Regions from separate parts of the Homo sapiens genome. Here regions 1, 3 and 4 are each linked to region 2. The links are contacts of gene promoters, found by promoter capture Hi-C in human tissues and cell types (Jung and others, 2019). All regions are on one chromosome and are shown on one strand. Each heading gives the region's core, a stretch centred on a gene start or on the middle of the fragment in contact. The rest is flanking DNA. Distances are from core to core; before and after follow the strand shown.

The links. The method cuts DNA at HindIII sites, captures the fragments that hold promoters and counts their contacts. A contact is called where the count stands out against the background at its distance.
Region 1: a fragment that was not itself captured here is called in contact with the fragment with the promoter of DLX6 in region 2 in 1 of the 25 tissues and cell types used here (neural progenitor cells).
Region 3: a contact is called between a fragment that was not itself captured here and the fragment with the promoter of DLX6 in region 2, in 3 of the 25 tissues and cell types used here (mesendoderm cells, neural progenitor cells and small bowel).
Region 4: a fragment that was not itself captured here is called in contact with the fragment with the promoter of DLX6 in region 2 in 1 of the 25 tissues and cell types used here (dorsolateral prefrontal cortex).

What each region holds. Positions count from the first base shown.
Region 1 is chr7:96,451,119-96,454,603 of GRCh38, forward strand. The region is part of intron 1 of LOC105375411 (a long non-coding RNA gene); the gene reads left to right. Among named protein-coding and RNA genes, the nearest start is that of SLC25A13, 130 kb to the left of the region's middle. The HindIII fragment of the contact is 4,279 bases long and covers 1-3,485 here.
Region 2 is chr7:97,003,386-97,006,921 of GRCh38, forward strand. It overlaps DLX6 (distal-less homeobox 6), which reads left to right and starts at 2,168. Exons shown (of 3, transcript NM_005222.4): 1 at 2,168-3,028. The coding sequence starts at 2,593. The region is part of intron 1 of DLX6-AS1 (DLX6 antisense RNA 1); the gene reads right to left. RefSeq lists an enhancer at 885-1,606 and a silencer at 2,919-3,018. The HindIII fragment of the contact is 17,411 bases long and covers 1-3,536 here.
Region 3 is chr7:96,381,680-96,385,269 of GRCh38, forward strand. The region is part of intron 1 of LOC105375410 (a long non-coding RNA gene); the gene reads left to right. Among named protein-coding and RNA genes, the nearest start is that of SLC25A13, 61 kb to the left of the region's middle. The HindIII fragment of the contact is 6,333 bases long and covers 1-3,590 here.
Region 4 is chr7:96,302,359-96,305,498 of GRCh38, forward strand. All of the region lies in intron 1 of SLC25A13 (solute carrier family 25 member 13), which reads right to left. Among named protein-coding and RNA genes, the nearest start is that of SLC25A13, 18 kb to the right of the region's middle. The HindIII fragment of the contact is 7,350 bases long and covers 1-3,140 here.

The sequences.
Region 1 (3,485 bases), core at 743-3,242, 550 kb before region 2:
TAATGCCCTCCCCCAGTGTCTTCAGAAGGGCAATCTCCCTTTTCAGCTCAGTAAGCCCAAAGATTTATATTCTAACATTATAGCTTTTTCCATTTAACTTAAGACACTATTCTTTATAAAAATAAAAGTTTTGGTAATACAAGTCTTACAAAAAGAAATATCACGTGCAGACTTGGCTTTACTGTGAGGCCATATTTATCATTTAGACCTTACCAAGAACTACTTATTCTTTCCTATTAAAGCAGGTATCCTCTTGTCTCTCTGTCTCTGACACACACGCATGCACACACACTTTAATTTTGCTGATGAGTTACTCACTGCATAGTTACCAGCTCTTCTTGCCACCACCTTCACCTCCCGAATCCAAAGCCATTTCCTGTGCATTTTTTTTTCTTGTCTGTTAGGACATAAGGAATAGAGCCCAAAGGCACAGGATGGCTTTTGCCTGGGGTAGGGAAAAGGCTGAAGTTGCCCTGATATATTCTAGCTACAGAATATGCCTGCTTGGTTCCTAAGATGCTGAATGAGTTGGGAATCACGGACAGAAATCTAAGGGCTGGGGGACTACAAATGAACGTTTTGATTTCTGTGGTGTGTTTCAAGATATTTGTGTGATATTGTTCAGAAAATTATATTTCTTTTGAAAATTGCATGGAAATATTTGTATAGTTTAACAATACAATTGATTGGTTTTAATGGAATACACACTGCCATTTCCCTGGGAGCCTGTTCTCTTGGCAGAAGTATGGTTGAAACGTGGGGCATATTTCCAGAAAGATTGCTAGACAGTACTAGAACTTGAAACAGAAGCTGGATATATCAAACCAATGTGTGTGTTAATGGTTAAGACCCAACATACACATAGGCCTTACTGACACAAGCATATACACATTTACATATTATGTTAATTTAGCCACAGCACCTTGCTTAAACCTTACTTTTTCATAAGTTTCTTGCTGCAGCTCCTAGGTGGGTTCCTGGGACCTGTGTGAGTGCCATTAGCTGCATTCCCATGGCTTCCACACAGCAGGACAATCTATTATTTTATCAGCCCTATTCAACCTTACAAAAAGATCTGTTTCTACGTGGGCTGATACTGTAAGTGCTGATTTCAGACCAAGGCCTGCTGCTCTACTAGCTTTTTCTTTCTGTGCCTGAATGTGGAACCCCCAGAAACAAGGGGATGAATGGAAATGCAAACAGACTCCCAGCTCCAGCAGATGCAATGATTGCTTCACAAGTTTCATTTGTACAGAGGTCAAAAAGAAAGAGTAAAGGTGGGCCTTTAGTGAAGAAATATAAACATGTTATAGCAAATGCTTTTTGTATCATAGGAGTAACCTGGACTGACATAAACAGATATTGTTCTCACTGATCTTTAAAATAAAATTTTTAATGTTTAACTTTTAACTTTCTGAAAATTCGTGTTTATACACTGTAAGAGAGCTGCCTGAACTTGGTTGTGTCATGCTTTCCAATGGATTTCTAGCTTTTGAATATACTTTAATTTGAAAAATCTTTTCATGAATCCTTGACTTGTTTGCATGGTGATCAAATAACTGGAGCTCACTTGATAAATGTCAACCATGTACATTCATAATTGTTCGAATCTGTTTCCCTTCCCCCAGATCAAGCTTAATCTGTAGTTGCAGGTCTTCAGGGTGGGGATGGGGAAGTTTAGCTGCCTTTTCAGTTTTTCCCTCCTTGTAGCAGTCCAAAGTAAAAGGAGGCAAGGCTGGATCAAGAGGGCTAATTTGCACTTTGGGAGGCAGAGGTGGGTGGATCACCTGAGGTCAGGAATTCGAGGCCAGCCTGGCCAACATAGTGAAACCCTGTCTCTACTAAAAATACAAAAATTAGCCGGGCATGGTGGCATGTGCCTGTAGTCCCAGCTACTTGGGAGGCTGAGGCAGGAGAATCGCTTAAACTTGGGATGCTGAGGTTGCAGTGAGCCAAGTTCACACCACTGCAGTCCAGCCTGGGCAACAGAGTGAGACTCTGCCAAAAAAAAAAAAAAAAAAAAAAAAAAAAAAGAGGACTAGTTCAGTGTCTCCTAACAAGTTCAAGTGTGTCTGTTTGAGTCTGTAATCCCAACACTTTGAGAAGCCAGAGCAGGCGGATCACTTGAGGTCAGGAGCTCGAGACCAGCCTGGCCAACATGGTGAAAACCCATCTCTACTGAAAATACAAAAATTAGCCAGGCATGGTGTTGTGCGCCTGTAATCCTAGCTACTTGGGGGGCTAAGGCAGGAGAATTGCTAGAACCTGGGAGACAGAGGCTGCAGTGAGCCGAGATCATGTCACTGCACTCCAGCCTGGGCGACAGAGTGAGACTCCATCTCAAAAGGAAAAAAAAAAAAAGAATTTGGGTACTTGATACTTCTATATTGTGGCCAAAATCAGGCCAAAAATATGAGGTCACCTTTTTATGTTGTAGAATGATTTGGGAAACTTTTCATTTATCTACTTCTAAAAATAAGTACATTTTATTCTTTTTTTTTTTTTTTTTTTTTTGAGACCGAGTCTCGCTCTGTTGCCCAGGCTGGAGTGCAGTAGCACAATCTTGATCTCGGCTCACTGCAACCTCTGCCTCCCGGGTTCAAGAGATTCTCATGCTTCAGCCTCCCAAGTAGCTGGGATTACAGATGGTGGCCACTACGCCTATGTTTTTTATTTTTAGTAGAAACGAGGTTTTGCTATGCTGGCCAGGCTGGTCTTGGACTCCTGGCCTCAGGTGATCCATCAGCCTCTGTCTCCCAAAGTGCTAGGATTACAGGCATGAACCACTGTGTCTGGCCTAAAAATTAGAACATTTTAAGTAGCATTAAATATATTTGTTCCTGAGAGTTTTGCTGGAACTTTAACAGTTTTTGTTCTGATGCTTTTTAATAGAGGAAGGGCTTATTTTTGGTCTTCTTTTACAATTTTCTTCCAGTTAGGCTCTTGATTTATTAATTTTTCTTCCCTTTTTAAGACTCTTTCTCTTTTTAGAAGTATATTTCACATACAGTTAAGTGCAAAAACCCGAAGCAGACAGCTTGATGATTTTTACCTATGTATAAACACAGGTAACCTCCACACAGAGCAAGAAACAGACATTTCCAGCATCCCAGCAGGCTCTCTCATTCTGCTTCCAAAAGTAACTGTTATTCTAACCTCTATCACATATAGTAGTTTTATTTGTTCTGGAGCTTCTATAGATAGAAACATCCAGCATGTCCTCATTTGTGTGTCTGGCTTCTTCTGCTCGTTGAGTTTCTGAGATTCATCTACAGGAGTGCAAAAGTGTTTGCAAATATACAAAGAATTACTGAATATGTTATTGCACCGAATCAGAGGAAAATACCCGAGAAGAGACTATAACCAAAATCGCATTAATCAGAACAGAAAACTCAAGATAAGGAAAGATGAAGTAAAGGAAGTAGCAAACACACTGGACTTATTAATTATATATTTGTGTGCAAGTGGATGAGAAATAACACCAA
Region 2 (3,536 bases), core at 918-3,417:
GTGGGGAACAGGGCACGCCACTTAAAAATGAATTCAGAGTTACTGAACCGGCTCCCCAGACTCAAGAACTTAAGCGCAACGGGCTGGGAAAAGGAGGGGGAGAGGAGCGCAAACGCCGCTGACCTGGGAACTCGGAGGAAACTCGCGGGCAGCGAGCTTCAGGTCTTCTGATACATTGAAGGAAAGAAAGAAAGACAGAAAAAGAAAAAAACAAACTGTCCTGGAGATAGCTAGACATCCAGGGCTGGGAGCTGGGAAAATCAATTGGCATAAGCCGCTGCCGGCGGGCTTCGCGCAACGTAAAAAATAAAGTCCAAGCTGCTCCATCTGCAGCCACCCTTTTCTGGAGTTAAAGGGGCAAGCGGCACCTTTTCTCTATTTCTCAGTTTCCTTCGGTCCTGTAACTTATGGAGTCCAGAAGAAGTAGGATATACAGAAGTCCTCAGTAGTTTTCCCAAAGGGAGACACTGTCTCCTTCCCGCAACCTCCAGACACTGCAGTACAGGGTTGTTAGATATTAGATAGTACGTTTCTCCGTGTGGGCAAAGGCTCGCGGCTTAGGTCTCTAAGCAGATCGAAAGTCGGGGTCCAGACCGAGAGGATCTTCAGGTCTCGTCCACCCAATCTCAAGCCTCTGGAAGGGCGGGCTGCCGGCGACCTCCTCCAGTCCCGGGACCCGGAACCCGGGACCCTGGACGCCGGTGCGGGCGGGCCTGCCCTCCTCTGTGCCTGGCCCCCAGTCTGGCCCTCCTACCTGTTGACCAGGCCTGAACCACGCACCGGGGCTCCGCTGTCTCTGCTTGGCTGCCTTAACCTGCGTGGGTCTGGAGACCGGAGGGAGAAAGGCTAGATCCGCAGCCTTGGGCTGCTCCGAACTTAATGTCTTTCCCCAGTCCATCTTTGAAAGAGAAGTGGTTCTACCACCTGGATGTGCGGATATAAATCCCCTTGCAAATAATAAATGGATTAATAATAACAAGGTATGAAGTTCTTTTTATAGAAAAAAAGGAGAGAATTGAAACTAAATGCGGCAGTTAGACAACCATTTTGATAAGAGGATAATTGAGGCGACACTGGTGTATAATTAGAGGATAATTTATGCTATATCCACTTTTATTCCACCTCCCAAAATAAACCCAGTCCATAATCATTACAGGCAAATTGTTCTGAATTTTATAGCAGCAATTTGAACAAAGTACTGCAGTTAATCATGGGAGATTTTTGTGTATTCCTGATTAGAACTCTAATTGCCTCCTTCCAGAAAGTAAAAATAACTGTAAAACGACTCTATTTTTATCATTAACAATGTTGACAATAAAATAAAATCAATTGGAATTGTAATCGAGAGACAAATTTAGGACGAAGGCACTTTTACTTGGGTAGTTTATATTGTAATCAAGATTTGCCAAACCACTAACCGCATGTATCATTTGCATATATTTGAAAGCATTACAGTAGCTTCTGTTTTCAATAGGAAAAAATGCATTACTGTCAGTCCTCCAACGATTCGTTTTCAGAACACGCTGCTGCGTTCTGAAAAGAAAAAAAAGACGCCCCCCCCCCCCACAACCTTTTGTACAATATATAAGAAATACGGCCTGAAACGGCAGGGACCGAGCCAGAACAGGGTCTGATTTTTCTTTTTCTGTACCACCCCCCAGTGGGGTGGAGCCCAGGTGTGAGGGTTCGTCTTCCTTCTGTGGTTTCAATAAAATACGTCTAGAAAAATCCACGGTGACAAGGAGCTCCCACAAGAGTGTAGTAGGACCAGAGTGGCAGGGACGTCAAGAAAGGGGGGCCTGGATTTAATGCGGGGGTGGGGTCACTGCTTCTAAGCACAGGCAACCTACAAGGGTGCAAAGGGATTGAAAGAGAGCAGCCCCCAGTTGGCTGTTTCAAGGCTGAGATATTGGCAACTGGGGCTCCGGGATTTGGGGCACGAGCTGCGGCGGGAAGCATCGGCGGCCGGCCGGGCAGAGGCGCCTCCCTCCCCAACGGCCCCGGGCGCCACACAGCGCGGCCCCCGGCTGCAGCTCCGGCTGGGATTGGAACTGCGGAAGGTAGGCGAAGAACTCTGCAAGTCGCGCACACGCCAGTAGAAGCCGTGCGCCTGTGACGTCAGGGGGCGACTGACCAATGGGGAGGCACTGCCCTTTGGAGACAAACCATTCGACTCGTGGCGTCTGCATCAAGTCTGAAAGCAGACGCGCAACTTTCGCAGAATCCACCTTAAAATCTCTGCCTTAAACTGCACCAGCCCCCAAAAAATCCAAGGGGGGAAAGCAGGCGGGGGGAGAGCAGATTCCCCCCTCCCCCTCTCCTCTCCCATCCCTCCTCCTTCCTCCTCCCTTTGAGTTAACAAGGCCCCGCTCACTATATCTCTTTATATTAAATATATATATATATTAGAGAAGAGCGAGGGAGAGGGAGAACCACCTCCACCCCCCTCTTTAAATTCTTTTTTTTTTTTTTTTTTTTTTTTGCAAGGATCCAAAGAGCTAAGGTGGCTGCAGAGGGGAGAGCGGCGCGAGCCAAGTGGGGGAGGGTGGAGGAAACCCGGGAGAAGGCTTTCTCCAGCCCCCAAAGTTTTTGATGATGACCATGACTACGATGGCTGACGGCTTGGAAGGCCAGGACTCGTCCAAATCCGCCTTCATGGAGTTCGGGCAGCAGCAGCAGCAGCAGCAGCAACAGCAGCAGCAGCAGCAGCAGCAACAGCAACAGCCGCCGCCGCCGCCGCCGCCGCCGCCGCAGCCGCACTCGCAGCAGAGCTCCCCGGCCATGGCAGGCGCGCACTACCCTCTGCACTGCCTGCACTCGGCGGCGGCGGCGGCAGCGGCCGGCTCGCACCACCACCACCACCACCAGCACCACCACCACGGCTCGCCCTACGCGTCGGGCGGAGGGAACTCCTACAACCACCGCTCGCTCGCCGCCTACCCCTACATGAGCCACTCGCAGCACAGCCCTTACCTCCAGTCCTACCACAACAGCAGCGCAGCCGCCCAGACGCGAGGGGACGACACAGGTGAGAGGCCGCTGGGGCAGCTCGCTTCTCCCGCCTCCCGACTGCCCCCTACCCCGCCCGCCCGCTCACTTCCTCGACGCCCGGGCCTCCGCCGGCCCCCTCCCCCAGGCGGCCCCGCGCGCCCTTGGCCGGGCCCCGTGCGCGCCCGCTCGCCTGGCGCCTGCCTGCCGGCCTCTCCCAGCCGGGCCCCTTCCCGCCGCCGCGGACCCTCAGCTTCCGACGCGCAGTTCGGGCTGAGTCCCGGGCCCGGCGCAGGCTTCGTTCGACGAGTTAGTCCACACTGCGCTCTCCAGCCTCCTGGGTCTGTGCGCCCTTTTCCTTGCTCCTTCCCTCCAGGCTGTAACCCACGTTTGACCCGGCTGGGGACATTTCTGGGCCGGAACTGGGGAGCGTGTTTTGCTTCCCAGCCCACGCTGGGCAGGCAGTGGCCTACTTTGCGTGGGGCGCCCCGTGCTCCTCAGTGACTCGGAGGGAAGCTGGCCTGGCTTTCGCTCTGGTTAAACTAGTA
Region 3 (3,590 bases), core at 80-2,579, 620 kb before region 2:
AACATTACAATCGCATCTTGCAACAGGCATATTTTATGTTTTTTAAGAGACAGTTTCATGGTGTTCCCGCTTTTGTATGTTGAAAGAATCTCAACTAGGAAGTAATTCCTCCACAAAAAAATGGAAATTTAGATCTTTGTTTCTCACATTGCAGATGATAGTCCTGATAAGGCTGAAGACTCAGCTCAGGCTAGATATACTGGGATCTATGATAGAAATGTGTTATCACAAAGAATAAGTGGCTTGAAGAATCATTCTAGGTGTCGCAAGATCCTGAAAGCGGAGGAAATAAAAGCAGTAATCAGAATGCACTGTGGAATATATTCTGTATAGTTCAGTAAAATTTATATTCTTCAGTTCTCTTTGGAGAATGAGTTTGGTCATTCTTTTTTTTTTTTTTTTTTTTTTTTTTTTTTTTTTTTTTTTACAGGGTCTCACTCTGTCACCCAGCCTGGTGTGCAGTGGCATGATCTCAGCTCACTGCAGCCTCAACCTTCCCTACTGAAGTGATCCTCTCACCTCAGCTTCCTGAGTAGTTGGGATCACAGGCACATGCCACTACACCCAGCTAATTTTTTTGTAGAATTTTTTGTAGAGATGGGGTTCTGCCCTATTGCTCAGGCTGGTCTCAAATTGCTGGGCTCAAGTGATCTGCCTGCCTCAGCCTCTCAAAGTGTTGGGATTACAGGTGTGAGCCACAGCACCTGGCTGGTCATTCTTCAAAAATCACTTTGTTGTCTTCATAAAGCTTATGTACTGCAAAAAATATATATTATACTTTTGGCTCCTAAATTATTCTATTATCATAAAGAGTCTAATGACAAGTGTAAGAAAAACAGCAGTATCTCTTAAGGATTTCCCTTTTAACCTGGTTTATTTTATATGAAGCATATTCCAGTGAATCTCAGAATCATTACTGTTTTAGGTGCAGAAAAGATGAGAAAATCTGGGGCACTACCTTCCCCACTTTTCAATTTATAGGTAAAGAACCTAAGGCAGAGAGAGAGGGGGCAATTTGCCCGAGTCTCCTAGTTCACCATCTGAACCTAGTTTCTCATCCATTTAGAGCACAGATGAGAAACACCTTAGTGTGTGTTACTGGGGCAGGATTTATGCACAGATAAAATAGGTAGCTGTCAATGTGGCACCATATGAAGTGTTCTTGGAAGAGCCAATATTCTCCTGCCATTTTGCCAGGAGGGCTGAAGTAGCTGCTCCTAATGAAAGACACACACACCACGTGGGAAGTATCACATTAAGTAGTAACCCGCTGATAACATGACCACATACACAAAGTTTTAAGGTTGGCTTTTTAATGCTGAGAAAGAATATAAGATAGGAGCCTGGGCACGGTGGCTCATGCCTGTAATCCCAGCACTTTGGGAGACCGAGGTGGGTGGATCATGAGGTCAGGAACTTGAGACCAGCCTGGCCAATATGGTGAAACCCCGTCTCTACTAAAAATACAAAAATTAGCTGGGTGTGGTGGCATGCACCTGTAGCCCCAGCTACGCGGGAGGCTGAGGCAGAAGAATCGCTTGAACCTGGGAGGTGGAGGTTGCAGTGAGCCGAGATCACACCACTGCACTCCAGCCTGGGTGACAGAGTGAGACTCTGTCTGAAAAAAAAAAAAAAAAAAAAAAAAAAAAAAAAGAATGTAAGATAGGAAAGATAAGCTGTGATGGTGAAGAGGCAATGGTAGCAAATGCTCAGTGTCTGCAGTAAGGATGAGAGAATCTTCAAAACTAATTATGTAAAATGTACAAGATTCTCTGAGGGCCTTGGGCCCCTGGAAATTGATACCCCCTCAAAATAGAGCAGCACTAATAAAAGGAGGTTTGAATGGCAGCAAATATGAAATATGTCACTTGTATAATTTTGCTTAGAAACAGGTTTTTATATAAACAAAAGACGATTAGAGTTGTGTAAATGTGCTTTCTGCACTTCTCATTGGACATAACATAAAGAGAAGGTGTGGAATTAACCATGGTTTATGGCACTAGTGAATCCAATTTATTCACTTTCATAAGACTTAAAAGTTCATGAATGTTTTCAAATAATTCTTTCAATAATCTTTGAGAAAAGTATTGTAATTGTAATTATAATTATTCATATTGCATTTATTCATTTATTTGTTAAACCAGCTAATATTTTTTGAACACCTTTCATGTGCCAGGCTAGAGATACCTGATGAACAAAAGAAACAGTAATCTCTGTCCTTGGAGACCACAGAGGTATGGGGACCTTCTTATATATAACTTTGGAGGATATTCAGCTACCTAGGACTCAAAAAATATCAGGGCATTTGAAAAAAGAGGTTGAGAGGAGACTTTCTTTTAGAAGACCACATGAAGTCTAGTTGGGAACATATATCATTCAAGTACATATCTGGAAAGTTTCATAGTTTGAGAAAGTGGATGTAGGAAATGCCAGCGAGACTGAGGTCTTGAATTCAATTCTGTCCAAACTAAGATTATTACCCTTGAAACAGATTTGTTGCAATATGGCTTAATTCATATGCCCATGCTAATAATCTGATCGCTCCCTATTTCTATTTTATTATTATTACCAAACTTATGTTACCATTCAGGAGCTAGTGTTACATTATAGGATCATTTGTAAAGCCAAACTGAAGGTTTTCAGACACAGGAGACCTAGGAATGTGAAAAGCCAACCCAAGTCTCCTGGAAGCAAGAAAAACCCACAACTGAGCTAAACTTTGCAAAAGCCAGCAAGCTGAGCAGGCATGTCATATCGGGGAGCAAGCCAAACACATTTCCCAGATCTGCAAAGAAACCAGTGATCATCCATCAGCAGAGAGAGAGAGTCTTTGGTTAAATGGGATGGCGAGCAAGCCATCAGAAGCTCCTCAGCCCAGCAAGATCTCAAACAAAAGAACAGCATCTCTAACTATACAGCCCAGCAAGATCTCAAACAAAGGAACAGCATCTCTAGCTATACAGCCTAAGTTCCTGTGTGACTTATTTACTGAATAAAATGCATTTCCTAGGGTAGTCCACTTTAATAATATAGTTTAACAACAGCAGGCTTCTGTTTTTGACCAAGGCTCAGTTATTCCTAGTCACTGAAATTAGATTTAACTGCAGCACCTGAGAGGCTCAAAGAATTAATAAGAATGCCTCAGTGACAGTTACAGATTGACAAGGGTCAGGTGGCCACACACAAACATTTAATCAAAGATTTTTGAAGAGTCTTTTGTCTTGCTTTCTTCTTCATTCTCCTCATTTGGTTCAAGAGTTGGTGCGTATATGTGTTAGTCTGTGTGTGTCTGTATGTGCGTGTGTGTCTGTGTGTGTGTGTGAGACAGAGAGAGAGAGAGAGAGAGACAGAGGCACATGTGCTATGAATACCTTTGTAGTCTTATGACATCTATTGAAATCTCAGAATAATCTAAGTTTGTTAAATAAAATATCATTACAAAGGTAACCAAATATGATGAAATATAGTTATCAAAATACTAAAATAAAAGCAAATCCATGATGATGGTGTTGTATGTGATTCTTCATTAGTATATTACACAACAAGATCTAGGGTAGATCTACAAATTGCCCATTTCAAAGTGATGATGA
Region 4 (3,140 bases), core at 84-2,583, 700 kb before region 2:
TTTAAACAGACTTTCTTACAAGGGAATCAAGCCACAGTTGCAGGCTCATTACTTTAACAAATCACAGTGGTATAGAATGGTGTATTCAAAATAGTTGTCAGATCTAAGAGAGGATGGTGGGGAAGAATATAAGAAAACCTACACGAAAATAAGAAATGCTAATTTGAAAAATAAAATGCAAAGAAAAGCAAAGCTCTCCTCTTTCACTGGGAGGCTGTAGAGATGTGAGACCACCATCTCTGTGAGGGCACCTTACTCCTCAGATCAACCCCAACTCTGGCAAAGATCAGGAAACAAAGTAGATTCTCTGGAAGTGCTGAATATAGAATAAAGTCTTTCAGGTCAGTAAAAATCTGACATTTACAATGAAAATAGGCAACTCTCTTCAGACCAATGGTTCTCAAAGTGTGGAGACCATCAGCATCACCTGGGAACTTTTAAAAATACAAATTATCACACCCATCCCAGACCCAAAGAATCAGAAACTGGGTGAGGCCCAGCAATCCCCTATGATTTAACAAGCCCTCCAGGTGACCCTGATGCAGTTAAAGTTTAAGAACCACAGCTTTAGATAATGTCCAATTTTAATGTACGGATTATAAGATGTAGGTTCTCAGTCCTCGCTGCATATTCAAGTCCCCTGAGGTGCTTTTAGGTTTTACAAAACCCAAACCATACCAAAGGTCAATCAAATGAAAATTTCTAGAATGGATATCTTTAGAGCTCCCTCAAGAAATTACCATGTGTGGGTGGACTGAGAACAACTGCGTTAGGACCCGAGGCCCAACCTCAGCTGCTACGTCACCAACTGTACAGCACAGCCCTTCCTCAGCAATACTTCCCCAGTCACCCTCCCAAACCTGAAACATCTGAAAGCCAAGACAAGCACAGACTTACACTGAAAATTCTACTATCATAAAGTAAATATTTGCCTTAGATAAGAACTACAAACTCAAAGAGGTAGCTCATCAAAAGCAAGCTTCTGGGTGTGTGTGTGGGTGGGTGGGTGTAAATAAGCATGCAGTGACAAGCAGGAAACGGAGAGAGAAGGAGAAACAGTCCTGCATAGTCTTTTGAACCTGAGGAAATAGTGCAGTAGATGGCCCTGAATCCCAAAGAAAAGTATTCTTGGGTGTAACCTAACCACTTAGAAGCAGGGGCCCACCCTCCTTCTTTATCTTCCTATACTAAAGACACTAGAAGGCTGAAACTACAATTCCCAGACTCCCTTGCTGCTATGCGGCCTATGTGCCATCAATTAGATGAAATTGAGTGAGATTTGGCAAATGTTTGGGAGTTGGGGGGCACCTTCTGCTGTTTCTGCCAAGCACGCACCATTGCTGGAAGTGTCTAGTTTTCCTGTGGCAACCTCCTGCCCTCCCATGTCAGTGGCCACATGGTCCTGAAACACTCTCCACTTGGCAGGCAGCATTGTGACTGCACAGGAGGTCACTGCTGTCTTGGTGGCCTGCTCTGCTTGAGACTCTAGACGTCATTCTTTAGAGCTCAACCTCAAGTCTGTTTCTTTACCTTCCCAACAAATTGTGTAAGCCATTTAATATCCTGTAATAAATCTCTCTCTGCTTAAACCAGCTAGAGTAGATTCTGTTCTCTGCGAGTGAGCCCTGACTGATACAATCAGTAATTGCAAAAGAAAGTTTGGAATTCCCTAAAACCACAGTTACCATTAACTTGAGAAGAAGAAAAAGGTATCTCAAACTTAAGAAAATAATTTTTTATTGAAACCACTGAGTCACTCATCCTTCATCCTACAGTTTCCCTACGACCTAATAAATGAAGAGCAGTCATTATGGGAAAAGTTACTGAAATATAAATTAGTACAAAGACAAGATGCCCTGTTAAGCATTCTTCAAACCACAACATTTCTATGTAATCAGCTGGCAAAACTTCATTTCACTCAACAGTTGACTTATAAAGTATCAGACACCACAAATGTTAACCCACTGGGTAATTACATCAGCGAGTCATTTCAGAGGCACTAGAGATGTTTATCAGAAGGATTCAGTAGGTTGTGATGTATGTTAGATTTCACTCTGCTCTGTTGTAGAACATAAACTAGAAAGCCATCATCATTAAAATTCTGATATTAAGAGGCAGAGTATAACAGTTAAGAATGAATGGTGGTGTTTTAGCTGGGTTCTGTTATGCCAAAAGAGCCTGAAACATACTAGTTCTGGATTTTACTATTATTGTTATTAAGCTGACCTCTACCTGCTAGATGGGAGTAGCAACCCCTTCCCCAACAAGCTGCAACAACCAAGAAACTGTCTCCAGAGGTTGCTAAAAGAAATCCTCTTGGGGGCCAAACTACCCCACCCCCCAGCTAACAACCACTCCTTAGATGGTGATGCTCTACTTGCTCATCCATGCAACACAATCACCTATGGGAAAGCTGCAGTGTACTAGGCCCAGCGCCAGGCACCGAGGAGAAAACACCCAATAAATCAGAAACCCTGCCCCAAGCAGGGAAAGCTGACTTATCGACAAGTGGTTGGTACAAAATGTATGATGATACATGCTATCATAAGGCAGAGTGGCAGGAGAATTAATACACTAATTCTGCTAAAGTTGAGGGTCACAGAGGCAGTCTTTGGAGCCGGATCACTTATTATTAATTATAACGATAACAATGACCAGCTAACTTTTACTGGGTCCTTAACTCTATGCCAGGCATTATGCTAATGGCTTTTTATCTTATTTCATTTATATACTGTATCATTAAAACTCTTTAAGGGGAAGAGTGAGTAATATCCCCACTTTTCAAATAAAGAAGCTGAGGTACTAAAGAGTCTTAAATGAATACCAGTAGATCACACAGCCAGAAATGACCCCTGAGCTCAGGTTATTTAGACACTAATTATAATACCTGAAGGATATTCCCAGAGTTTAGCAAGCAAAAAGGGGGACTTTAAAGCTACCTTTAAGAATGGAGACACTGGACAACATTGTAATTGTAACCAATTTAAAATAAATTCTTTTTAATTTGGCATTATGATTCATAAATGCCCATGGCTCAGTAGAAGGCAGAAATGCCTAGTGCAGAATATTATTCTCCAGTATTTTATGCTGAATTCAGTCTCAATTTTTGTAAGCATCAAGGTTACAGTATAATTAGGAAC